4 separate regions of the Homo sapiens genome follow, and regions 2, 3 and 4 are each linked to region 1. The links are contacts of gene promoters, found by promoter capture Hi-C in human tissues and cell types (Jung and others, 2019). All regions are on one chromosome and are shown on one strand. The core of a region is centred on a gene start or on the middle of the fragment in contact, and the rest is flanking DNA. Distances in the headings are between cores, read along the strand shown. Region 1 holds the start of CABYR (calcium binding tyrosine phosphorylation regulated). Region 2 overlaps OSBPL1A (oxysterol binding protein like 1A). Region 3 overlaps LAMA3 (laminin subunit alpha 3). Region 4 overlaps OSBPL1A (oxysterol binding protein like 1A).

Region 1 (6,642 bases), core at 2,648-5,147:
GCTAATTTTTGCAGTTTTAGTAGAGGCAGGGTTCCACCACCTTGGCCAGGCTGGTCTTGAACTCCTGACCTCATGATCCACCCACCTTGTCCTCTCAAAATGCTTACAGGCATGAACCACTGTGACCGGCCAGGTCTTTTTTTTTTTAAAGAGTCTATCCTAGGCTTGGTACAGATGGCGCCTGTGGTAAATCTGTGTTAACATGGTGGTAGACCATGGAGAATGGGTAGATGGAGCTTCTAGACTCCAAAACAACAAAACCACAGTGTGAGTACACTGTCCCATTAGGTTGACTGAAGTCTGAGTACATTTTCTGGCCTGCGTGCCGTGACTTATCCAACCTGTGAACTGATTGTGATCTGCTTGGTAACTTGGTTTGGTGTAAACTGCTCTTAACCCTTTGCTGATGAAGAAAATAATCATATAAGTGGAACTATTTGCATCTATGTGTGCTTCTTTTTTTATGTTGTCATCACTCATTCCTTCCCCTGTCCTATTTTGGAGGCTCTCAATGGATCTTCTAACTTATAAATGTCAAATATATTTTTGTATTAGATTGTGCCTATGATGAGAGAAATCTTTAATGTATATTTTATGTATGCTGAACACATTTTTATAATTTGACACACTTGGAGGCATGGTCTAGTAATAATAATGTAATATGTACCTTGCTGGTTAATATAACTAAGATTTTGCCTTTATTGGGTTAGGTATCTTTTTTTTATTTTAGCACCTGATAGCTGTCTTCTACTGAGTAAAGAATTATAACTTTTAGATGTCACAGAAAATTAGAGTATTTATTGTCACATATTGTGTAAGTCAATTATTTACTGAATTTGCACTTTTCTGTCTCTGCCAACTAAAGTTAAAGGACAAGTCATATCTGATTTTTAAAATGAGCACATGCACAGGCATGCACACACACACACACACACACGCAGACACACACCTTTGCTGTGTAAACTTTTCCAGTGGATTTCTTCCTTAAGCAAATCATGGTGGCAAGTATTCAAATACGGTTTTCACTATGAAGATACACATTCACAAAATCATGATGTACTGTTTTGGTTTCTGCAGATGGTATATTTTGTAGAAAGAAAATTGTTAAATCGAGATCATCCAAGAAGATACATAGTCGAGGCAGATACTTTAGAAGCTAGAAGAGGAAATGCAGAAAGAGAGAAGGATAAGGGGAGCAAGAGAAAGTTGGTCCATAACAGATAATGCTCCTTTTTCAGTAAAGTATGCAGAAATCACCAAGAGCACAATTTAACTGGCTTTCTTGTGAAAGCTAGCAAGGGGGCTGATCTCTGTCACCTAGTTGACTTGGGTATGAAATAGAAGCAACACACTTGAAACCCAGGTGACCTCTATGTAATGCCTAATTCCTCCTCCCAGAGGCCAGTGGTTGTCAATTTCCGTGTTTTACATAGAGATTCTGGTTTGGTAGGTTCTAGGTAGGGCTTGGGAAGGCATTTTTAACAAGCTCCTGGGATGATTTCTTATGCAGGTGATGTGGATTAGAGAAACATTGCCCTATTCATCTTTTGTTAAGGATTTGGTAAATCTGGGAGAAGAGTCAAACACAAGCAGAATTATATAGAATTATATAGCAAGGATAAGTCATAGAGCATACATCATGGGGCCACTGAGAAAATGCTTCTAACCCACTGGCTTCCTAAAGTAGGAGATTTCTGAGATGAGTTCTAAAGGAGAAGCAGGATGCAGTCAGGTGAAAACACTTGCTGGAGCAGCATCCAAGGCCTTGGACCTAATGAGCAAAAGCACAGAGGTGATAAGCGACATGTGTGTTCAAGACTCTGGAGGGTCAAGTGGGAATCACATGGTGAGACATGAAATACGAGAGGTATGCAGAGGCCACACCCACAACCATGGACTTCCATAGGGTAAGGATTTGGGGTGTGGGAGAGGGGCAGTGGAAGGTACATTTGCGTTTTAAATCATTGGTGACCAAAAAATAACATACTGGTGATTGAAAGGGAGATGAACACAAGCCAAGATTGTGAAACCACATCAAATCATTAAGAGTTCAAGAAATCAAAGCAGCGATGGGCAGTGGTTTGAAAATTCTTGGTTAGATGTTTACATTGTAACAATTTGCATTTCAGAATGACTCAGCCAAACAGTCACTGAAGAAATGGAGAGTAAAATCTTGTTTTTTGAGTTACAGGTATTTCTGCATAATACCTTACACCTAATAGATGTTTGAGATGACCCACCAAGGTTACGTTAAAAAAACCATAAATGTCTCCAATTCCAAAAGACACCATAGATGAGGTACTTAGGATTTTCAGTAGCTCAGTTCATTATGTCTCTGACACCTAAATGTGTTATAAACCAAGCTATCAGAAATCATGACAGCCTCATCTCACTTTTATTTACATTACCAAAGTGGTGCTGGAGGCAAGTGATGAAGGATGAAAAATATCTGCAGACCCACCAACATACTCAGTCTAAAAGCATTTCTCCCTTTTTTTTGTTTTGTTTTGTGAGACGGAGTCTCGCTAATTCTCCCTTTTTAAGTATGTAAACTTCCCGAGAAGAGGGAGCTTTCCTGGCACTCAGTAAAATAATTATTAAGTGGATTAATGAATGGCACCAGATAATGCTGACTGAGGCCTTAACATTGCTTTTATTGCAAAGTGCTCTGGAAGCCCTAATTTTTTCTGAATTAAAAAATAGGGTTTTGTTTTATTTTGGTTTGGTTTTTGTTTTGTTTTGTTTTGTTTTTGGTCAGATATCTGCCCTGGCGATGCTCTTTGGTTTAAAGTAGTTGCTTTTTAAACATTTGAAGATGGATCAAAATTAAGGCTGCTTGTACTCTGATAATCATGATTATGGTGTTATTTAGAGCCCAGCCCAAATACCTGAGCCTAAATGAGTGAAAGAGCAGAGAGTGGGCGTTTTTTTGTTTTTTTTGTTTTGTTTTTTGTTTTTTTGAGACGGAGTCTCGCTCAGTAGCCCAGGCTGGAGTGCAGTGGTGTGATCTGGGCTCACTGCAACCTCCGCCTCCCAGGTTCAAGCAATTCTCTGCCTCAACCTCCAGAGTAGCTGGGATTACAGGCACCCACCACCACGACCGGCTAATATTTTGTATTTTTAGTAGAGACAGGGTTTCACCATCTTGGCCAGGCTGGTCTTGAACTCCTGACCTCGTGATCCACCCGCCTCGGCCTCCGAAAGTGCTGGGATTACAGGCGTGAGCCACCGTGCCCGGCAGAGTGGGCGTTTTTAAATGAAGCAGTATTCCTTTAGTTTGGTAAAATTGAGCTGAAGTTACACACAGTAACACCTTGACTTGTTGCTGACGGTGTGCTTTGTGGGGATAGTTGGTGTCTGATCTCAACTGTGGAGAAACAGGAAGTTTCTGGATTCATGCTGAACTCCCATTCCACAGGCGAGTTTCACAAAAGAAAAAGTGCTCTGTTGCATACAATTATTCACTGTGTGTCTACAACGTGGCAGAAATTATTATTCCTAAAGGTGACCGAAGAGAGCTATAGTTTATGGGGCCAGGAGCAATGTGTGGAATGGCGAGGCAGTGACAAGACAGCACTGCCATAAATCTCTTACTTTCTTTCCAAACGAGCTCTAATTTTAAGCTCAACGACCAAAGACGGAGAGGCAGTCGCTTTGAGCTACTCCTGGCTATTTGTTGGGAAATCACCTAAATCCGTTCAGATTTAGCCAGAAAAGGGGAAATAAGTCTCCCTCGCCGGCCAAATCATGGCCTTTGTCGCTTTCGGCTCCCCATTGGCTGCGGCCGCTGTGGCCCCGCCTCCTTGAGTGGTGCGGAGCTTTGTGATGCGGAGCTTCGTGATGCACGCCCCGATGCCTGCGGGGCTATAAAAACGCTCGCAAGCGCCAAGTCTCCTCAGGAGCCGCCGGCAAGGGGGCAACGAGGAAGCTCTTAAGAGCGCGGCCGGAAAGCAGGTGGGGAGAATCTGGAGAAAAGGCGCACCCTGCGGCCTCGGAGACCATTATGTCTCAGGGAGTCTCTCGCAGTGGGAGAGGTCGTCGGGGCAGGCGGAGGGTCCTCAGAGTCGGGGGTGGGGGGCCTGTGGGGCGGCCCCGGCCCACACCGGGGAGTGCGGCGACCAGACGGCCAGCTGCCGAATCTGAGGCCTCGGTGGGTCCGTCGCCCGCCTCTCTTGGACAAGTCCAGGCGATGTGAGCACGCCCAGCCTCCTACATTTCACTCCCGTCTCTCCCAAACAGACCTAGCGCAAAACGAGCACTGACACAGCGGGGGCCCACATCCCGGAGGTTCTTTAGGGAGAGGTCGGGGAGTGCGGTTACCTATGGCTCCGAAGTCCCCGCTGGCATCCTGAAAGGCATCGTATTTCTCGCTTAAGGCGTTACCCTTGTGGTAGTGGGCGCATGGACGTTTACAGTTGGGCGGGGCAGGATTTAAATTCCGCCAGTGGTGGACCAGTATTGGTGATAGGAGAGATCTGGGAAGAATTATTAAGCTGTCGCTTTTAAATAACCCTAATAGTGTTTGTGACAATTTTACCCGTTGACTTTTCTCAGCTTGCTTAGGACAGTTCTTTGTGGGGAACTGAACTGTAGGACGTTTAGCGTCCCTGGCCCCACACGTTCCCAAAGTCGGGGTGAGAACTAGTGGGACGGGGGATCATGGAGTGCATGGCCGCTGTCCCCACCTTTGGTAGCACCAACTGCTAACTGCCTCCTGAAAGGTTGTTGGCGCCATCATGGTTTCTGGGAGCCACTTTCTTTTTTATTCTTTTTTTTTTTTTTTGAGACGGACTCTAGCTGTGTCACCCAGGCTGGAGTGCAGTGGCGCGATCTCGGCTGTCAGCTCCGCCTCCCGGATTCACGCCATTCTCCTGCCTCAGCCTCCCGAGTAGCTGGGACTACAGGCACCCGCCACCACGCCCGGCTGATTTTTTGTTTTAGTAGAGACGGGGTTTCACCGTGTTAGCCAGGATGGTCTCCATCTCCTGACCTCGCCTCGTGATCCGCCCGACTCGGCCTCCCAAAGTGCTGGGATTACAGGCGTGAGCCACCGCGCCCGGCCTCTGGGAGCCACTTTCAAAACGGTCTATCTACTCACTTTGGGTACTTAAAGAAAATTAGACATATGATATATATGAGTATGTATCAAATATATATATGTATCAAATAGTATGTATGTATCAAACATGTCATGCTGCCTATGCCCCTTAGCATTTAGCATGTGGGACTGCGGAATCCCCACTTCTGATTTTTTAAAAAATTCTTTTTTTGTGAGTACACAGTAGGTGTATATATTTATGGGGCACATGAGATGTTTTGATTCAGACATACAATGTTAATCACATTGGGAATGGGGCATCTATCCCCTCAAACATTTATCCTTTGTGTTACAAACAATCCAGTTATACTCTTTCTGTTATTTTAAAATGTACAATTATTGACTATAGACACCCTGTTGTGCTTTCAAGTAGTAGGTTTTATTCATTTTTTATACCCATTAACCAGCCCCACTTTCCCCCTCCCCCACCCAGGCCCCATTACCTTTCCCAGCTTCTGGTAACCATCCTTCTCTATGTCCGTGGGTTCAATTGTTTCAATTTTTAGCTCTCACAAATAAGAGACCATGCAATGTTTTCCTTTCTGTGCCTCACTTACTTCATTTAACATAATAATCTCCAGTTCCATCCACTTTGTTGCAAATGACAGGATCTCATTCTTTTTTAATGGCTGAATAGTACTCCATTGTATGTATGTACCACATTTTCTTTATCCATTCATCTGTTGATAGACGCTTAGGTTGCTTCCAAATCTTAGCTATTGTCAACAGTGCTGGAACAAACATGGGAGTGCAGATATCTCTTCTGTATACTGATTTCCATTTGGGTATATACCCAGCAGTGGGATTGCTGGATCACTTCTGGTTTTTTAAAGATGGTTTAATTCAGTAAATCTGTTGAATGATATCGTAAAAGGAAGTTTTCATTAAGGGATTCAATTATACTTAATTATATACTGAAAGGATTTGCTTTGGCCAGTACAGATTCATTTTGTCCTGACCTTTGGGAAGATGAGATGTGTTTTTAAGTATTGAACATTTTGCTATGAGATATTCGTTACTTTATAATAGAAGCTGTGCCCTTCTATAATTGTTGTAACTGAACTATGCCACTTAACCCCGTGAAACTCATTATTTACTGTAGGGATGTTGTTGAGGACATGGTTCATTATATCACACTATTTGCTTTATAAGGACTTGGGGGAGAAATTTCTCCTGGGTTTCAGTATCCAGAATAGCTGTGGTTCTCCCATACAACTGATGTGTTTTTCACCTCAAGAAACCTGAATCATTTAACCACCTATCTCCTATTTTGTGATGGCTGCTTGGTAGCTTAGGGGCCGATTTGATGCCCATCTTTATCAAAGTGAAGGAGCTATGGCATGCATTGGAGTGCTAACTTTACCTGTAGCTTCACCTTGTTTTTCCTATCTTAGTTTTCCTAGGGATTTTCTTAAATATTTAATTTTGTTCTTTAGAAGCCTTAGGTGATTTTTTAGGAGTCAGAATACATACACCCTGACACAGTTTCAGGTGGCAGCCTCTGCAACTCTGAGAATTACAGGTTGGTCTGTGCAGTATCTCTG
Region 2 (6,642 bases), core at 2,910-5,409, 240 kb after region 1:
AGGAAAGAAAGGAAAGAAAACCAAGAAATGCCGGGAAGGAACCCCCCACATGGAAACACTATTCACGCCTGGTCTTGCCCACCCCTCCCCACTCCCTTAAGAACTGCATATCATCTGACTATGTCACCTTCTGCATCAACCCTTCAAACTGCCCTTAAGATAAAGTCTGACTGACAGGTATAATGAGGTGAAAATTGAAAAAAATATTAACATATTTCTCAGCTTTACATTTCCAAGTAGATGACTTTCTCCTAATTAGCCTGAGGCAAACATGGGTGGAGGTGGGAAGGGGAGACAGAAAAGGGTCACTGAGGATGATCAAATGTTTTGGCATTCAAAATAGAATCCTGAGGTAAAGATAAAGAGCCAGTCTTTGCTGAAGAATGGGGGGAAATTTTATACATTTTTTTATTTTTTAAATATTTTTTCCTCAGATCATTCTCCATAACAAAGATATTTTAAAATTCCTTTTACCACCTCAGTTTCTAGACAACCCAGATCCTCAGATCACAGTTTCTTCCCTATTGCAAAGATGCTATTTCTTCCCCACTGAGGGTGAGGTCATGAGGTTTGCTGCCCTGGTACAGGAGGAGGAAGTAGCAAAAAGAATAAAATATCCACCTGAAGCCAGCCCTTTCTGGGACTGAGGAACTGTGGAAGAAAAAAAGACAAAAGCTGAGACACGTGGCTCTGGATCTTAAACTCGGAAAGTGGGATACATTGAGGAGACATAGAGAACAGGCAAGCTGCTTCCGGGATGCAGGAAAAGACCCCCCCTAGATCGCCCATCTTAGCACTCCCCTGCCAGATGCCACATCAAAGCAGACTCAGTAAGGTGTCCTGAGGGAAGGCTGCATTTTGGCTAACCAGAGCTGCTCTAGGTTCCCCCATGTCATTGGCTCCCACATGCCACTCTCCCAAGAAGGGAACAGGAGTGTGTCTGCATTGAACCAGCAAGCCTAGGCCAGGTGCCAGATGAAGATGTGACAGAGGGTAACACAAGCCAACATGAGAGTCTCCTGATACAGCCAAGGAGCCTTACCTATGCCACACGACACACTGAGAGACCTGAGTTTGACTTTCTACCTGAGTTTCACGTCAGCTTCCAATGCTTAAGGAGCACCAGGAAGACAAGGGTGGCTGAGGACCCAAAGCCAAGTCATAGATTCGAGGAAAACCTGCCTCTCCACCACACGAACACACAGCAAGTCTCACCTCTACACTCAAACACCAAGCTAGAGGAAACACAGGGGAAGGGAGATCAAGACTTTATCAAAAAGGCTACTAAAAAAAGTATGGCTAGATGCAATGGATCACACCTGTAATCCCAACACTTTGGGAGGCTGAGATGAGAGGATCGCTTGAGACCAGGAGTTCAAGACCAGCCTGGGGAACACAGCAAGATCCCGTTTCTACAAGAAATACAAAAATTAGCCAGGCGTGGTGGCATGTGCTTGTAGTCCCAACTACTCTGGAGGCTGAGGTGGGACAAAGGCTTGAGCCCAGAAGTCTGAGGCTGCCATGAACTGTGAGCATGCCACTGCACTCCAGCCTGGGCAACAGAACAAAACCCTGTCTCAAAAAAAAAAAAAAAAAAAAAAAAAAAAGACAGAAGTACCCAAAGACTAACGTTTACTCTCCCCATACCTCCCAGAACATGAAGAGGTTTATTACAATACCAGAGCCATTTTGAGAACACGTTTTATTTCTCTGCACATTTGATGCAAGGTTGTGATGTATTGGCCACTTTGCTACACATGGCATATTATGACTTGGCTGCTATGTTGTTTCTTCTTCCTTGAACCATTTTTTCTTCTCTATCGTCACCTGGTTAACTCCTACTCTTTCACATTTCATCTTAGAATCGTCTCCTCCAAGAAGCAAATCCTTCAAGTTCCAGTTTCACACCTCTCCCATGACACCTGCACTTCCAGATCCTGGTACCTATTTTGTAATGCAGACTAGTCTGATCTGTTAATCTACTAGACTAAGCTCAATAAGGGCAGGGATCCCATGTGTCTCTTCATCATTATCTCCAAGACACACAGTAAACACTCAGACCTGCTGGGTCAACTGCAATGTCTTCAAGAAGAAAAAAAAATTATCATAGTGTATCTGGAATTGGTGGGTTCTTGGTCTCACTGACTTCAAGAATGAAGCCGCGGACCCTCGCGGTGAGTGTTACAGCTCTTAAGGCGGCGCGTCTGGAGTTGTTTGTTCCTCCCGGTGGGCTCGTGGTCTCCCTGGCTTCAGGAGTGAAGCTGCAGACCTTCGCAGTGAGTGTTACAGCTCATAAAAGCAGTGTGGACCCAAAGAGTGAGCAGTAGCAAGATTTATTGCGAAGAGCAAAAGAACAAAGCTTCCACAGTGTGGAAGGGGACTCCAGCGAGTTGCCACTGCTGGCTCCGGCAGCCTGCTGTTATTCTCTTGTCTGGCCCCACCCACATCCTGCTGACTGGTAGAGCCGAGTGGTCTGTTTTGACAGGGTGCTGATTGGTACCTTTACAATCCCTGAGTTAGACACAAAGGTTCTCCACATCCTCACCAGGTTAGCTAGATACAGAGTGTGGACACAAAGGTTCTCCAAGGCCCCACCAGAGTAGCTAGATACAGAGTATTGATTGGTGCATTCACAAACCCTGAACTAGACGCAGGGTGCTGATTGGTGTGTTTATAAACCTTGAGCTAGATACAGAGTGCCGATTGGTGTATTTACAATCCCTGGGCTAGACATAAAGGTTCTCCACCTCCCCACCAGACTCAGGAGCCCAGCTGGCTTCACCCAGTGGATCCCGCACTGGGGCTGCAGGTGGAGCTGCCTGCCAGTCCTGCACCATGCGCCCGCACTCCTCAGCCCTTGGGTGGTGGATGGGACTGGGCGCTGTGGAGCAGGGGGCAGTGCTCATCGAGGAGGCTTGGGCCGCACAGGAGCCCATGGAGGGGGTGGGAGGCTGAAGCATGGCCGACTGCAGGTCCTGAGCCCTGCCCCGCAGGAAGGCAGCTAAGGCCCGGTGAGAGATCCAGCGCAGCGCCGGTGGGCTGGCACTGCTGGGGGACCCAGTACACCCTCCGCAGCCGCTGGCCCGGGTGCTAAGCTCCTCATTGCCAGGGGCCGACAGGGCCGGCCGGCTGCTCCCAGTGCGGGGCCCACCAAGCCCACGCCCACGCCCACACGGAACTCCAGCCGGCCCGCAAACGCCGCGCGCAGCCCTGGTTCCCGCTAGCGCCTCTCCTTCCACACCTCCCTGCAAGCCGAGGGAGCCGGCTCCAGCCTTGGCCAGCACAGAAAGGGGCTCCCACAGTGCAGCGATGGGCTGAAGGGCTCCTCAAGTGCCGCCAAAGTGGGAGCCCAGGCAGAGGAGGCCCGAAAGCGAGCGAGGTCTGTGAGGACTGCCAGCACGCTGTCACCTCTCAATAGGATGTATCCTGTGGGCTAGAGCCACCCTTGTGGCTTGTAATATTTGGGATCCATAACAATTTTAAGAATTTAAAATTCTTATGTCACTTTCTCTGACTCAGAGGGGGCTAGGAGAGACATTTCCTCCAATCTGTGGGGTTCTTCCTAGCATGAGAGATAGAGATTAATTACATGATAGATAAGAAAGGTTAGCATTAAATAAATGCTAAGAGTAGTGCAGACTCATAAGAGAAAGCTACAAAATCCATTCAAAGTTTACCTTTGCAATTAATGTCAGCAATCACTTCATTCCTCGCCATGGTCTCTAATAGTTGTCTTACTTCTTCAGCATTGCCATTTCTGGCGTGATGGAGAAGCTGTTGCTCCGCTTCTGTGTTCATTTCTAAATTAAGAAAATAATAACATTGCTATTATTTAAGAACATAATTAGCTTTTAGATATCACCTGCTAATACAGAAAGGGGAAAGAATCCTCATTTTGCAGCTGATAAGACAGACACAACAACTGAATAAATCCGTTGCAGGGTGAGAACTTGAGCCTGAGACCCCTTGCCCTTCCTATTATTATTGAAGCAGTACAGGAGACACTTGGGCAAGTCTCTTAACTTCTTAAGGCCTTAGTTTCCTCATCTGCAGAATACAACCAACCGCATAAGCTGTTTGTTGTAAGATTATGTATGTGAAAGCATTCTGTCAAATACATAGTATTATGCAAATAGTTATTACATTAAAAATTAGACATAAAAGGAAAAAACAAAATTAGAGATAAAGTCAAAGTATGACTTTATTTCCTATATGACCATTCATATAGGAATAGTGTAAGACTAACATGTAAACTAACACATTCAAAACTGTGCAAAGAATCATTCTGAATAGAAACTCATTATAGATAAATGCCCTGAAGTGGCTATATGTAAACAAATTTATTTTTTCTGTCACATTTTCTTATCAAGCCCCAAACCAAATATAGAAAATTACAACCAAATTTCAAGCATTTATGTCAAAATGAGCAAATATTACAAATAGCAATTCCCAGAAGTATGTCATTCTTACTAATAATCAAATAAATAAAAATCATTCAAACACAAGTGATATTTTTCATGCCCATTGAATTAGCAAAAATAAAAAAAGACAAGAAACAATGCTGGCATGGGCAGGAAATAGCACTCCTGTAGACTGCTAAAATGAATATAAATGCATACAACCTTTCATACATTACAGGTGGAGATCAGCAATTTGGCAATATCAAATAAACTTCAAAATTCATATATACCATTTACTTTGTCTAGGCAACTCTATTTCTAGAAATCTATCCTGCAAAAACATTTACACAAGATTTTTATTTCAATGTTTATTTTTCCCCTCACTTTTGCTGTCATCTTATACAAGATTATTTTGAAACCATGCTTATAAAGATTACATTATTTGTAATAGTGGAAAAGTTAGAAACCACTCCATGTCATCAACAGGGGACTGGTTAAATACATCTTCCAGTGAGGCTAAAAGAGATGGGCTGTATAGGCTGGTGACTGGATGGGTTTTGAAGGCATGGTTTCAAAACAGAGCAGAGCAAACAGCTTGTCTCCAGCCCTCTTGCCCTAATCGGCATTTCTTATGCAGGCAAGCCAGGCTTTACCCTCTATGAGACTTAGCTGGTTATATTCCCTAAAGTACAAGAGAGACACCAGGAGGTCCCAGCAAGTGGTCAAGCCAGGCAAACCTTACAATGAAGTTAGCAGTCAACAGGGCCCACCCACTCTCTCAGTTTTCAATCAACTTTCTAGCTCCCCACTCTTAAACATGAAAGACAAAGACCAAAACCAAACAGGGAAGAAAAGCAACCTAGAGAAAACAAGGTATCAAAGAAAATGTTAAAAAATAATAACTAATATCCTTAGATAATAAATGACATTCTGTCCTGTAACAAAAACAAGATGCTATTAAAAAAAAATAAAGCTTGAGAAAAAGAACTTTGGAAATAAAAATAGCAAAAATTAAAACTTCAATAAAAGAGTTGGAAAATAAGTTGAGAATATCTCCTAGAAAATAAAATGTTAAGAAAATGGGAGATAAAAGATGAATGTTGGCCAGGCACAGTGGCTCATGCCTGTAATTCCAGCACTTTGAGAGGCCGAGGCGGGTGGACCACTTGAGCCCAGGAGTTCAAGACCAGCCTGGACAACATGGTGAAACCCCAACTCTACTAAAAACACAAAAATTAGTTGGGTCTGCTGGTGCACACCTGTAACCCCATCTACTCAGGAGGCTGAGGCAGGAGAATCACTTGAACCTGGGAGGTGGAGGTTGCAGTAAGCTGAGATCATGCCACTGCACTCCAGCCTGGGTGACAGAGTGAGACTTGGTCTCAAAAAAAAAAAAAAGAATGTTAAGAGAATTGGTCCAGGAGGTCAAACATTGAAACGAAGTTCTAAAAAAAGAAAACAGAGAGACAGAGAAAATAAAGAATTTATTTGGCAGGCCGAGGTGGTAGGATCACTTGAGGCCAGGAGTTTGAGACCAGCCTAATACGGTGAAACCTCATCTCTACTAAAAATAAAAAAAAAAAATTTAGCCAGGTGTGGTAGGGGAGGCCTGTAGTCCCAGCTATATCGGGAGGCTGAGGCAGGAGAATCGCTTGAACCTGGGAGGCAGAGGTTGCAGTGAGCTGAGATCACGCCACTGCACTCCAGCCTGGGAAACAGAGCAAGACACCGTCTTAAAAAAAAGAATTTAAGGAAGTCTTACAGCATTGAAAGGCCTAATGAGAGCCCAACAATTCTGGAAGATTTCTGATCTACAGACAAAATAGAACCTATGAAAGCACATCATCATGAAATTTTAGAACTTTGGTAACAAAAGATATCAGGTAATAAACAAAAGAGCAGGAATCAGAATGATTTTGACTTCTCTATCACAACATAAGCATCCAAAAGACAACAAAGCAATACCTAAAAGTTCTGGAGGAAAATTATTTCCAATCCCCAATTCTATAACCAGCCAATCAAAAGTAGGAGTAGAATAAGGACATTTTAAAATATACCAGTATGTAAATTTATTTCCCATGCAACACTTCTCAGGAAGCCACCAGGGGTGTAGCTCACCAAAATTAAAAAACCAAGGAAGAGGAAGACATTAGCAAAGACATTAGAAACAGAAAACTAGCAAAGGAATCCCCAGAGTGAGGGGAAACCCCTGATATCTAGCTGTGGGCCTGGCCTAGCTCTT
Region 3 (6,642 bases), core at 1,948-4,447, 210 kb before region 1:
GGGAGGTGTTCTGGTCCCTGGCATAAATGGAGGGACCTTTTAGACAAAGTTCTCAAACCTAACCTGGAGCAAGGCAAGCAAGTGTAATCACTAAATCAGCTTTGCTCAAGGGATTTTGTGCACGTTTTGTTTCTTCCCCCTCTCACTGTAGTGTTTCTTCTGGGAATGGGGACCCAGATCTTGGAATGGCTTGTTTCCGATTATAATCAGAAATCATTCTGTTAATCCCATCTCCTACCCAGGAGAAGAGCAAATCATCCCTGGTAATGCCAGAGGGTGTGACACCAACAAGGGCATTTTTCTTGAGGACCTACACCATTGTTTACAGAGTGTGATTATACACACTAAAATGAAAATGATCCAAAAAGTAGATCTATTGAACATCGACTAAGTACCCAACACCAAGATTAGGGCTGCCTTTTGTTCTTTTTGCTCTCTGAAGTCGGCCTGCAACAGCCATGGAGCTGGCTAAGCTTTTGTGGACAGATTGGCCCAAAGTATACATAAATACCCCAACGCAGGAACCCACCAACACAACAACTCATGCCCCAGTGCAATCACATTCCTCTAGCAAGTATGTTCAGACCCTGTATCCTGGAGTAAATGTAGAACTGTAGGTCCTCAGGTAAGCCAAGGTAACAAGAATCCCCCCAGGAATAGTGGAAGTAAATCTCTTCCATTTTAACACTTCTGCTGTAGGTAACTCTTCTAGAAAAAGGCATGATCACTTCCAAGTGCTGCAGGAATACCAACTGTAAGTGTAAAAAGCAAGGGCTTCAAGCCTCACTAACCTGTGTGACACACTGACAGTACAGACCCCAGCTCTACCACTTACCAGCTGTGTGACCTTAGGCAAGGCCTTAACCTCTTAATGCCTCATTGCTACATCTATAGTATGGGCATAGTAGCTGCCTATCTCTTAGGGTGGTTGGAAGATTCAGAGTGTGTAAAGGAATTAGCAGAGGTCAGCACATGGTCAGTGCTCAATAAATGTTAGATAAGAAAACCTGCCCTTCCTGCACATGTATCCTAGAACTTAAAATAAAATAAAATAATATAAAAGAGAAAATACCTCCCTCAAAAGCTTATTGTAAGTTGGATTCATAGAGCTTCGTGCAAAATAGGTGGTCTGTATCTGTTAACTGCCTTTCTCTCCTACTATTTTCCTTTTCTGCAACCTTCTTTCTTTGACCAATAATCTATGGAGAGAGGGACATCTGGAATGTCGTTGTCCAAGAGATATGTTGAAACCCAAAGAAGAATTGACCTAAAACCATGTATAAATAGGCAAGCTCCAGGAATGGAAATGAACCCTCCTCCTCTTCTGAGGCAAAAGGCCATCTTTATAAAATAATTAGGCTTATACTGTAATGCCAGTGAGGATTTGTTTCTTTCTTTTCCTTTTAATGAAATTTAATTTTAGGTCTATTACAGGTAGCTCAACTGTTTCTAATGAATTGGATTAAAATGAATGCAGACACCTTTCCATTTAGAAAAGTAAGCTGCATTAGGGATTTAGAATGAAATCAGCTTTGGGTTTTCTTAGTACATCATTTGTTTAAGAAACACAAATATTTGCCTGGACTTCAGTTAGTTCATGTGTGTGAATGCTTTATGTGCATTCAGCTCCAGACAGATCCAGAAGTCAAATCGAAGGGGAAATGCCCTGGGGCCATGTAGAAAGAGCTGCTTTAGAAATTGCTCTCATTATATAAGAGCAGTAATATGGGAGTAGTTACTAACTTGACGATCTCACATTGAGTCCTTACTCTGTACAAAACACTGTTTGAGTGTGTTACACATATTAACTTTCTTAGACTATGACAGCCCTATGAAACAGATTCACATATTCCCATTGTCTAAATGAGGAAACAGGCACGGAGAAAAGTTGCCTGTTCAATCAGAAGGGACAGAACTTGAACCCAGGCAATTTGGCTGGTCCAGAGCAGCACAATTTTGCCTCTCAGAAACACCTGCTGAGCATTCACGTCCAGGTGCCATGCACTGCTGCAAGCTCTTGCTGTACGTTAACTTGTTTTTTTGGTTTTGTTTTTGTTTTTTGAGGCAGAGTCTCGCTTTGTTGCCAGGCTGGAGTACAGTGGCACGATCTCAGCTCACTGCAACCTCCGCCTCCCGGGTTCAGATGATTCTCCAACCTCAGCTCCCGGGTAGCTGGGACTACAGGTGCCTGCCACCACGTCCAGCTAATTTTTGTATTTTTAGTAGAGTTAAGTTTTCACAATGTTGACCAGCCTGATCTCGAACACCTGACCTCAAGTGATCCACCTGACTTGGCCTCCCAAAGTGCTGGGATTACAGGCATGAGCCACCCCACCCGGCCCGTTAATTTTTTAAATCCTGGCAATAACCCTTTGCCCACAGGTAGGAGGTGGTAGATACAGCAGCATATGAACCCAGACAATGTGTTCCATTGTTTCAGCTTGGCATTGGTTAAATCAAGCTACGTTTTTCATAATTGAATAGAACCAAAAAGTAACACTTTGTTTCTTCTGACTTTACAGTGGCTAACTTAACAGTGAACAGAAAAAAAAGAGCAAAAGGTTTTCTAGAGCACTCCTGGTTCCTACAAATGATTTATTACTTTATTAATATATATGTATATCATATATCATCTATTAACTTATTAATACATGTCCTATCCACCTGCAATGCCGTGACTCCAGCGGGGAGGGACGGGCAGTTCTAGATATTGTGCATGTTCTCTGTCTCTTTACCTTTTGCGGCCACTGGCCATTCTTCTGTTAACATTGTTGTCTGCATTTTTAAAGCTGGGAATGTAAACTTACACAGAAAGGAAGTCAGTTCTCCCAGCATCATAAAATAAGTAGCATTATGGGAATCCCATGGGAAAGGATAAACATAAAACACCTACTCATTTATGGGTGAAAAGTACTAAAGAGCACAGCGTTTCAGCTCTGATTTCACGTGAGCCTGACATGATCCATCTCTTCCTTTTATCTGTGTTCGTAATCAGATTTAACATTTCTACGCCTGCTTTCCGAGGCTGCATGAAAAATTTGAAGAAAACCAGTGGTGTCGTTAGATTGAATGATACTGTGGGAGTAACCAAAAAGTGCTCGGAAGACTGGAAGGTAAGTGAAAGTTCAGAACCTCGTGAAGGAGTGCTTCCCAGCCAACCCACCTTCCGTATCCATTAACGCAGCAACTTTTGACTTCTTTCTGATAGCACACAGTGTTACAGTGAACTGGCTCATATACACTCCCCATGTGCTTGCAAGATGCTGAACCTTTTCAGGTTTGCACATTAACTTTGTAGGAAAGTAGGAAGACCAACTATATACACAAAAACTTACAGATGATTGCTGACTTATTATGCAGAAAAGTAAGCTCTCTTTCTTTCTGAGGTTACATAAATCACATTAATCAGTTTGAGTAAAGTGAGATAGGGTAAGGTACTGTATTTCAGCCAAGAAATGATTACAATGCCAGTAATTTATTCCATGTTTGCATTTCAGCTTGTGCGATCTGCCTCATTCTCCAGAGGAGGACAATTGAGTTTCACTGATTTGGGCTTACCACCTACTGACCACCTCCAGGCCTCATTTGGATTTCAGACCTTTCAACCCAGTGGCATATTATTAGATCATCAGACATGGGTATGCAGTAGTGCATTAATATCAAACAAGATTTAAACCTGACTCAAAGTTTGATGTTAAAAACAACAGAGAGATTTAGAAAGTGGTGGAGTTGTACATTTTTTCTATCATCACACAGTAAATGCTATTGTATAGTTCAACCATAAACGTTATTCCCCACTCTGGGGTAGGTCCTCAAAGAAATCAAGTTTAGAAAGTAACATTATAATTTACAGAGTTGCATTTGTGTGTACTCGCGGACTCATTTTTATTCTTTTCAGGTATATTTTATAATAAGAGTTAAGGTGGATTATAACTACTGTAGTTAATAATGTAGCTTAAAGTTTCAGAGCTCAGAAAGAAAATCAGAGTGTGTCCCTATGATTTCTTTTTGATTGCATTAAAGGTAGCTCTCTCCAGATTGCCTTTTTGCAGCAGCAGCAGCAGCAGCTAGTTGGACAATATTTATACCTGGGGAATTGGAGAAAATAAGATCCTTTTCTCTTTCCTCATGTACAACAGAGCCACATAAATTCTCTTCCACAAGGAGATACCATCTGTAACTTAAGCAGATTTAGCTAGTGTGGTTATGTAGATACAGAAGTCACCTAATATTTAGAAATGAATATTTGTGGAATGAGTGGAATTTTTAAATAGAAGTAGAGTATGATTATTTCTGAATTTGTTTCTTTAGGATTGCAGAGCACAGCAGACTTCTAGTATCTGTCAAGAAAATGGCTGGTGGCTGACTCTGTGGCTCTGTAATATCAGGAAGGCCGCCCCTCTCTTGGTGGCTGACTCTGTGGCTCTGTAATACTAGGAAGGCCGCCCCTCTCTTGGTGGCTGACTCTGTGGCTCTGTAATATTAGGAAGGCTGCCCCTCTCTTGGTGGCTGACTCTGTAGCTCTGTAATATCAGGAAGGCCACCCCTCTCTTGGTGGCTTGCTCACCAGTCCTTGAGGTTTTATTTTTAAAATGAGCCCTAAAGAAGCACATGCTAACACTTAGACTATAGGGGTGGCTTTTCCATGAAAGCAGGATGTTTTGATCTAGCTCTTATGATACCTAACACTTGTTTCCTCTGCCACGTGTAGGAACACTTAGTACACAATTCACAAAATGATCGAGAGCAGATGGAAGAATTAGGTTAGCAAAAGATTAGATCCGCCCTGGACAATGGGGGAATCCTGGATATAGCATAGGGACATTGCCCTCAATTTCATAATGGGTTAGCTAAAGATACATATAAGTTAGCATTAGTTTATGCAATTCATAATGAATATTGCCAATTGAAAAAAAGTCAACACAAAGTAAAATCAACAATGGCTATAACCACACACTGTAAAACTTGTTTTAGACTGAAATCTTACCAAAGAATCACATCTTGTTGAAAACTGCAGAAATTATACTTGGTAGAAAAAACACAAACAAAATTGAAATGACAAGTGCTGAGATTGCACATTTTTTAAATTAATGATTGACAGGAAGAGTCAAATTATCTTGCCCAAATTTACATCTTCAGAGTTCAACATGGAGAATTGGACTTCCCAAAAATAATGACTAGGAAATAAAAAATTTATAATGACTGAAGAGAAGAAATCATTGTAATATTCTTATATTAAAAATTGAGGAATCGAGTCTTTGCTGTAAAATTTATTTAGCAATGAATTGATCCGATAGAAATAACTTCAGCCAAAGAAAAATAAAAATAGAAAAATTTAGACTGGGCATGACGGCTCACACCTGTAATCCCAGCACCTTGGGAGGCCAAGCCAGGAGTATCTCTTGAGCCCAGGGGTCTGAGACCAGCCTAGGGAACATAGTGAGATCCTGTCTCTACAAAAAATTACAAACTTAGCCGGCTGTGGTGGTGTGCGCCTGTGGTCCCAGCTTCTCAGGAGGCTGAGGTGGGAGGATCGCTTGAGCCTGGAACAGTGCCACTGTACTCTAGCCTATGCAAGACAGCAAGACTCTGTCTCAAATAATAATAATAATAAGATAAAATATAAAAATTTAGAAATGATTTAACTGTTTTGTATAGTCGATTGAGAAATTAAATTGGCTTAATGAATGTAGGTCCAAAAAATGATTTTGACAAATTCATTGGTGTTGACATAATTTGCATAAGATTTTTATATTTATAAACATGGAGTCAAATATGCAAAAAATAATCTTTAGAGCAAAAAGCAAACTCAAAGCATTTGGGTCAAAACATCCTGATTGTTTTATACATGGTTTGGATGATAAATTCAGTAAAGATACAGGCATAATCCTTATATGCAAATTAGTTGATGGGTATTTTCTATGGTGATTTCAGACAAGGAACCTGCAGGTCACTCTGGAAGATGGTTACATTGAATTGAGCACCAGCGATAGCGGCGGCCCAATTTTTAAATCTCCACAGACGTATATGGATGGTTTACTGCATTATGTATCTGTAATAAGCGACAACTCTGGGTGAGTGGAATAATACTTCTGTCAGAGCTGTGAGTGAGTTTTACTCTCTTTCGTTTAATGGAATTTTCTGGTGTCTTTTTGCAAAATATTTGTCCTTGATACCAAAAATACTTCACTAATAAGTCTTGTCCTTCTTCCTTTTTCCATATCAATTTCTTCATAAAAAAATAAACTGCCACACATGGTGGCTCATGTCTGTAATCCCAACAACTAAGAAGGCTGAGGCAAGAGGGTTGCTTGAGGCCAAGAGTTCGAGACCAGTCTTGGAAACACAGTGAAACCATGTCTCTACGAAAACTAAAATAAAATAAAATGTAAATAAATAAAATTTTAAAAATAAATCAGTTGGATGGATAAATTGTGGTGTATTCAAATGGAATGCTATATAGCAATGAGAAAGAAGGATCTAGAACTATATGTAATGACATGAATGACCCTCACAAACATAATGTGGAAAACATTGAGTCACACATAAAAGTTCATCTCATATGATTTCCTTTATACAAAGTTCAAAAACAGGCAAGAACTAATCCATTCCATCAGAATTCAGGATAGAGGGAGGGAGGCT
Region 4 (6,642 bases), core at 2,100-4,599, 170 kb after region 1:
ATTCTCCTGCCTCAGCCTCCCGAGTAGCTGGGATTACAAGCACGTGCCACCACACCCGGCTGATTTTTGTACTTTTAGTAGAGACAGGGTTTCACCATGTTGGCAAGGCCAGTCTCGAACTCCTGACCTCAAGTGATCCACATGCCTTGGCCTCACAAAGTACTGGGATTACAGGCATGAGCCACTGCGCCAGGCCTCAAGCTTTAGACATTCTGACTCCAAAACCCAAGTCTTCTGGGATTCATAAGCAGAATTCTCATTCCGCAGCCAAAATTAATTTACAGGCCAAAAACATTAACTTTAAACTTATCTTTCTTTTTTTAAAAGGATAAAAACATTATTAATCTCTAAAGCAAGCATCCTCTGTGAGTAGAAACTTTAAATTGCCCTTTTAAAGTTTCAAAATAGTTTTATCAAATATAACTCTTAATTCAAAACCAAAAACTGTTTAAAAATGAAGTCAAACAAAACTACAACAGGTCAGTATCTATGTGTTAAAGAGTGATTGTAGGGATAGTGCTTGTCTTTTTACCTTTAGCCATGTCACACTCCTTAATCATTTTGAGAAAGTTGGAAATTTCCCTATCTAGTCGCTGTTGGCATGACTGTGCTTTCTGCAAAAAAAGAAAAGACAAAATTAAAACAAAGTAATAAAAGATTTTACATTACTTATGCTTTAGTGTTTCTATCAAAACTTTCAGTACATAGATTGATATACCATAACAGAGACATATGCCTTAAAGAAAAGAAAAAGGTGAGAGAAAATTTCCTTGTAAACTGAATATAACATTTAATCAAGTGTAAAGTAAAAATAAATATTTTAAAGGTTTAAATACATTCAACATCTGTTGTGTAGATACCATACAATTGCATCCATTACTATTACTATCTCATTATGCCATGTGTATCTGAGGAATTATAATTCTCTGATTTATTAGCACTTTTAGTAGGCCTCATGAAATTCATCAAGAAATTATAAAATGCATTCCTTAAAAATATATTTTAAAAACTGTTTTGTTCAGAAAAAAAAATCCAGATGGTCCTAACATTTGGAAACCACAAGCTGATTCTCGTTCAGCAATCTAAGTGCATACAGCCCCCACATCATCAAACCAAAAAGGACATTTTCTTAGTGTGTCAAAGCTTCTGAAAATAAGGTAAAGTCAATTATAGAAAGCATTCTTCCTTGTAATTTGAAAGTTCTACATTTTTAGATCCCTAAAGGCAAAAAAACATAAATATAGAATTTCTTGATGAAAGTTACATCCCATCTTAGTGCAGATTTAGAAATCCAAAATGAAAGATCAGTCAAATCCATTTATTACATTAAAAATGTCATTTTGAAGGCAGTTTTATATATCATTTCCCTTTAAAGAGGTGGGAAGAATAAGCAAGAAAATTATTATTGTAAATTTGCTTGGTTATCAAAATAGAAAATATTTATTCTGAGAATCTTGACCTTATAAACAATCGAATCACATTCTTTTAGGTAGAGTAATATATTTAGCCTTATGAAACTTCCCTACTTTGTACTCCTAATCTCAGCTAGCCCATCACAAAACATTTTGCACCCCCAAAATCAAACTTACTATAGATCAGTATGTCAAGGTGGCATAGGTAAATACTCTTTTCTCCTATTTCACCTTATAAATTTTTTAGTGCTTACAAAGTTCAACTCAACCACAGTAGAATTATTCATGTTATCACATTAGTGACAGGCAATATTCTCTTCAAAATTTGTATTACTCTCCTTTGTTTTGAGGGCTCTAACAACACCTACGTACCATTCACTTGGTGGAGAGCAGGGGGAGAATACCTACACTATGCAATTTAAAACACCATATATGCCTGATAATTTTTCCAGACACAGCCTGTGAATACAGGTTGAGGGGCAGGGAAAAAGTTTATCTAGAGGCACCAAAACATGCACTGCAACCAAATGCATCACTCATGATGAATAGAAAATCATCATTCTTGCTCTATACATATTTAATACTCTGCTTATGTGCAAGTCAATGATACTGTTTTATCCTTCCTATGATGAAAGTAAGCTAGAGGCATAAAAGTAAGCAATGGCTTCAATTGCAGACTATGAATCTGTAATAAACAGGATAGTTTTCCTAAGTTATAATTAAAGGCAGGAAACACCTTCTATAGCATCATCTTCAAATACATGAATCACATTTATCTTCCCTTGAATCATATTTCCATCTAACAGTTATTAATAAGTTTCCTTGATCGACGATTTACTTGTTTTAAAGGGTACATAACAGGTCAGCTGGAGAAGATCCAATCTACACATACTGTTTTAAGTTGTGTACAAAGTATGTCTTCTGTTCTAAACAACTTAGTGCTTTTTAACTGATACTAAAAGATACTAAAAAGAAGAGGTTATTAATATAATAAAACATAATATGGTCTCCCATTTGCTTAGTCGCTACTAGTTATATTTTGAAAAACTAAAAATCAATTTATGAAAGTTAATTCTTATTAATATTTTGCAGAGTCCAACATGGTTTCTCATTTTTGACTTCTATGCCATTGATATTATGTCAGGAACTGATATGATTTGGCTGTGTCCTCACCCAAATCTCACCTTGAATTATAGCTCCAATAATCCCCATGTTTTGTGGGAGGAACCCGGTGGGAGGTAATTGAATCATGGGGGTGGGCTTTTCCTGTGCTGTTCTCATGATAGTGAACAAGCCGCATAGGATCTGATGGTTTTATAAAGGGGAGTTCCCCTGCAAAAGCTCTCTTGCCTGCTGCCATGTAAGACATGCCTTTGCTCCTCCTTCACCTTCCACCAAGATTGTGAGGCCTCTCCAGCCATGTGGAACTGTGAATCAATTAAACCTCTTTCCTTTATAAATTACCCAGTCTGGGGTATGTCTTTATTAGCAGCATGAGAACGAACTAATACAGGGACTCTTTTTAAGTTTTAATTTCTATTTATTTATTCTACATAAATGGAATCTCACTATGAGCAATGTTATAATACCTAAAGTTTAACAGTATTTTAACTTTGCCCAAGTTATCTGGACAAAGCACACAAGAACAAGGATTAAACCCATTGATACAGGGGCCTAGAGGATCAGAAGTTACCCCAGGTGAGCAGCTGAGCCACATTTACAACACAGGTCTCCTGCTTAGAAACCAAAATTTTAGCTGTTGGTTTTGTATGAGTTAAGCTGATGTTAAATTACCTTATGATCCCTAACCTACAGGGCAGCTCGAAAATGCATATCAAGGGGGTGAATAGCTAGAGAGGAATGCATAGGCTAGTAGAGAAGTAATTAATTCCAGGCTATTTGCTGCAGAAAATCCACATTTGGTTAATTAAGCACAGAAGCAGATTGCCACCTACTCAGCAATAAAAATGAATAAACTACTAATACACACAACATTACGGTGAAAAAAGACACCTAAGAGCACATACTGTATGATTCCATTTACATGAAATTCTACAACAGGAAAACTGATCATGCTTATAATGACATTGTCATTATATCAGTGTCATTAGGTCAGTGGTTGCCAGAGATGGAAGTGGAGGGTATTATCTGGGAAGAGCAGCAAGGGAACAACATTTTGACATAATAAAAATGTTCTCTATCTTGATAGGAGTGGTGGTTACACAGACAATACACATTTGTCAGAATACATCAAATTGAAGACATAAAGTGAATTCCTTTTTTCTGCAAACATTATATTTCAATATTAATTCAAACTTTAAAAATAATAGATTGTCAAACTCTGATCACTTTCTTCTTTGCAGAAAATGGCCGCTATTACAAGCAGTGGTGCCGTAGCACTTATCTCTAAGTCTTCCTAACTCCAGCCAAATCCACTTCAAAGATAGCCCCATACTCTGGCCAGGCTCGGTGGCTCATGCATGTAATCCCAGCACTTTGGGAGGCTGAGGCAAAAGAATCATTTGAGCCCAGCATTTCGAGACCTTCCTTGCAACATAATGAGACCTAATCTCTACAAAAAAAAAAAAACAAAAACAAAAACAAAACAATGAAAAAATTACCCAGGCTTGGTGGCACATGCCTATAGTCTCAGCTACTTAAGAAGCTGAGGCAGGAGGATCACTTGACCCCAGGTGGTCAATGCTGCAGTGAGCTGTGATCACACCACTGCACTCCAGCCTGGATGACAAAGTGAGACCCTGTCTCAAAAAGAAAAAAATAATAACCCATACTCCATCTTTCCTAAGTCAACCCAAAAGCACATTTATTCTTTCTGACATCTGGCGATTATTATGCCCCTGCTTTGTAACTTTCTTAGGGTTTCACTTTGCAATATGTATTTACATAAAGTAAAAATAAAAAACAAAAGGATATAGAGAGAAAAGTAATTCTCCTTCACACACTTGACAATCTTATTTTGCAGCTTTCTCAGCTGCAGAGCAACAAGTGCTAATTTCTCATCTTTCCTGAATGATCTAAGTCTACACAAATATATATGTGTACATCCCTGTTTTTTTTCCTCCCAAGTAGTATCATATTTGGTACATCATTTTATGCCTTGTCCTTTTCACTTAACTGTATATCTTAAATATATCAGCATATATACATCTGCCTCATTCTTGCATGGATGTACCAATCTTTATTAGCTCCACGTGGATGTACATGCAACTTTCTGCACATTTATTTTAGTTGGGAATCAGTTATTCTTTTTTTGTTGTTGTTTTTGAGAGAGGCTGGCTCTATCACCCTATTGCCCAGGCTGGAGTGCAGTGGTGCGATCTCAGCTCACTGCAGCCTCCGCCTCGCAGGTTCAAGTGATTCTCGTGCCTCAGGCTCCTGTGTAGTTGGGATTACAGACGTGCACCACCATGCCTTTCTAATTTTTGTATTTTTGAGGCAGGATTTCACCATGTTGGCTAGGCTTGTCTCGAACTCCTGGCCTCATGTGATCTGCCCGCCTCGGGAATCATTTATTCTTAAATCAGAAAAGCTTTATCTTATTTTCTCATTCCATTAAACTCGAGCATCATCTGCTCATTACTTTTTTTTTTTTTTTTGAGACAGGGTCTCACTCTGTCGCCCAGGCTGGAGTGCAGTGGCGTGATCTTGGCTCACTGCAACCTCCACCTCCTGGGCTCAGGTGATCCTCCCACCTCAGCCTCCTAAGTAGCTGGGACTACAGATATGGGCCACCACGTCCAGCTAATTTTTGTATTTTTAGTAGAGACAGGGTTTTGCCATGTTGCCCAGACTGGAGTGCAGTGGTGTGACCACAGCTTGCTGCAGCCTCAGCCTCAAAATTAAAAAAAAAAAAAAAATTTGTTTTTAAGATGGGGATTCGCCATGTTGCCCAGGATAGTCTGGAACTCCTGGGCTCAAGCAATCCACCCACCTCAGCCTCCCAAAGTACTGGGATTACAGGCGTGAGACACCATGCCTGGCCTGCTCATCACTTCTTGTAACACAAAAACAGTTCAGATCCTACAGAATCAAGACATCTTCAACAAATAAAACCCCCACTTTGCTAGTACCACCCAGAGCCTCTAAGAGCCTATCCCAGCACTGTCCAATAGAACTTTCTATGATGCTGGAAATATTCTATATCTTCGCTGTCCGTTGTGGTAGCCACATGTGGCTACTGAGCACTTGAAATGTGGCTAATATGTAGTTAAATATAGTTAAAATGAACAACTGAATTTTTTTTTTTGAGTCGTCTCACTCTTTCGCCCAGACTGGAGTGCAGTGGCACAATCTCACCTCACTGCAACCTGTGCGCCCCGCCCCGCTGGGTTCAAGCAATTCTCTTGCCTCAGCCTCCAGAGTAGCTGGGACTACAGGCGCCCGCCACCATGCCTGGCTAATTTTTGTATTTTTAGCAGAGACCAAGTTTCACCATGTTGGCCAGGCTGTTCTCAAACTCCTGACCTCAAGTGATCCACCCACCTCAGCCTCCCAAAGTGCTGGGATTACAGGCGTAAGCCACCGTGCCCAGCTGAATAACTGAATTTTTAGATTTTAATTAATTTAAATGTAAATAGCCACATGTGTAAATAGCCACAGGAAAGCTAATAGCTATCATATTGGACAGCGCAGTTCTATACCAATACCATGCTTGATTAATTTCTAATTTTTATTTCTGAAATATTTTCAAGTTGCTATTACAGCAACAACCATGAGGTCAATAATTAATTCTAGGACTTGTTTTATAGAATTATATTGTATAAGACAATGTTTACCAAAAAATGTTTATACTGAAAAACTAACTCACTCTCTCTCTCTCTTTCCTTCTAAGAGACAGGGACTCACTATATTGCCCAGGCTGAACTCAAACCCTTGGGCACAAGTGATCCTTCCACCTCAGCCTTTCCCTCATTTCTTATAGGTCTGTGTACTAATCCAAAAGCATGTTAAGGAAATAAAATCAGTTTTGTTGTTAATTCAGATGATTTTAGAGTATATCAGTCCTAGAATGACTAATTCCCCTTAGAATGTCTATAGGTATCAAGAATAGACCTTTCCATAAATTGGCCCCTGAATTTCACTGGAACTTAAAAACTCAAGAATGAAGGGCATCCTGGAGCCAGTCTACTGACAAGCTATGATTCAACACACTTCAAAGCTCATTTTGGATTTTACCTATTTTGAACCAGTCTCCAGATGTTGAGACAGA

The links. The method cuts DNA at HindIII sites, captures the fragments that hold promoters and counts their contacts. A contact is called where the count stands out against the background at its distance.
Region 2: a fragment that was not itself captured here is called in contact with the fragment with the promoter of CABYR in region 1 in 1 of the 25 tissues and cell types used here (small bowel).
Region 3: a fragment that was not itself captured here is called in contact with the fragment with the promoter of CABYR in region 1 in 1 of the 25 tissues and cell types used here (spleen).
Region 4: a contact is called between a fragment that was not itself captured here and the fragment with the promoter of CABYR in region 1, in 1 of the 25 tissues and cell types used here (stomach).

Annotation. Positions count from the first base shown.
Region 1 is chr18:24,135,165-24,141,806 of GRCh38, forward strand. CABYR (calcium binding tyrosine phosphorylation regulated) reads left to right here and starts at 3,898. Exons shown (of 6, transcript NM_153769.3): 1 at 3,898-3,954. TTC39C (tetratricopeptide repeat domain 39C) reads left to right here. Exons shown (of 14, transcript NM_001135993.2): 14 at 1-436. RefSeq lists an enhancer at 3,483-3,542. The HindIII fragment of the contact is 11,741 bases long and covers 1-6,642 here.
Region 2 is chr18:24,373,736-24,380,377 of GRCh38, forward strand. OSBPL1A (oxysterol binding protein like 1A) reads right to left here. Exons shown (of 28, transcript NM_080597.4): 2 at 3,678-3,800. The coding sequence starts at 3,798. All of the region lies in intron 2 of LOC124904268 (a long non-coding RNA gene), which reads left to right. Among named protein-coding and RNA genes, the nearest start is that of OSBPL1A, 21 kb to the right of the region's middle. RefSeq lists a silencer at 4,910-5,204. The HindIII fragment of the contact is 6,496 bases long and covers 912-6,642 here.
Region 3 is chr18:23,925,128-23,931,769 of GRCh38, forward strand. It overlaps LAMA3 (laminin subunit alpha 3), which reads left to right. Exons shown (of 75, transcript NM_198129.4): 63 at 2,996-3,113; 64 at 3,498-3,638; 65 at 5,935-6,074. Among named protein-coding and RNA genes, the nearest start is that of LINC02958, 54 kb to the right of the region's middle. The HindIII fragment of the contact is 8,922 bases long and covers 1-6,642 here.
Region 4 is chr18:24,303,105-24,309,746 of GRCh38, forward strand. OSBPL1A (oxysterol binding protein like 1A) reads right to left here. Exons shown (of 28, transcript NM_080597.4): 14 at 533-614. Among named protein-coding and RNA genes, the nearest start is that of MIR320C2, 15 kb to the right of the region's middle. The HindIII fragment of the contact is 5,355 bases long and covers 673-6,027 here.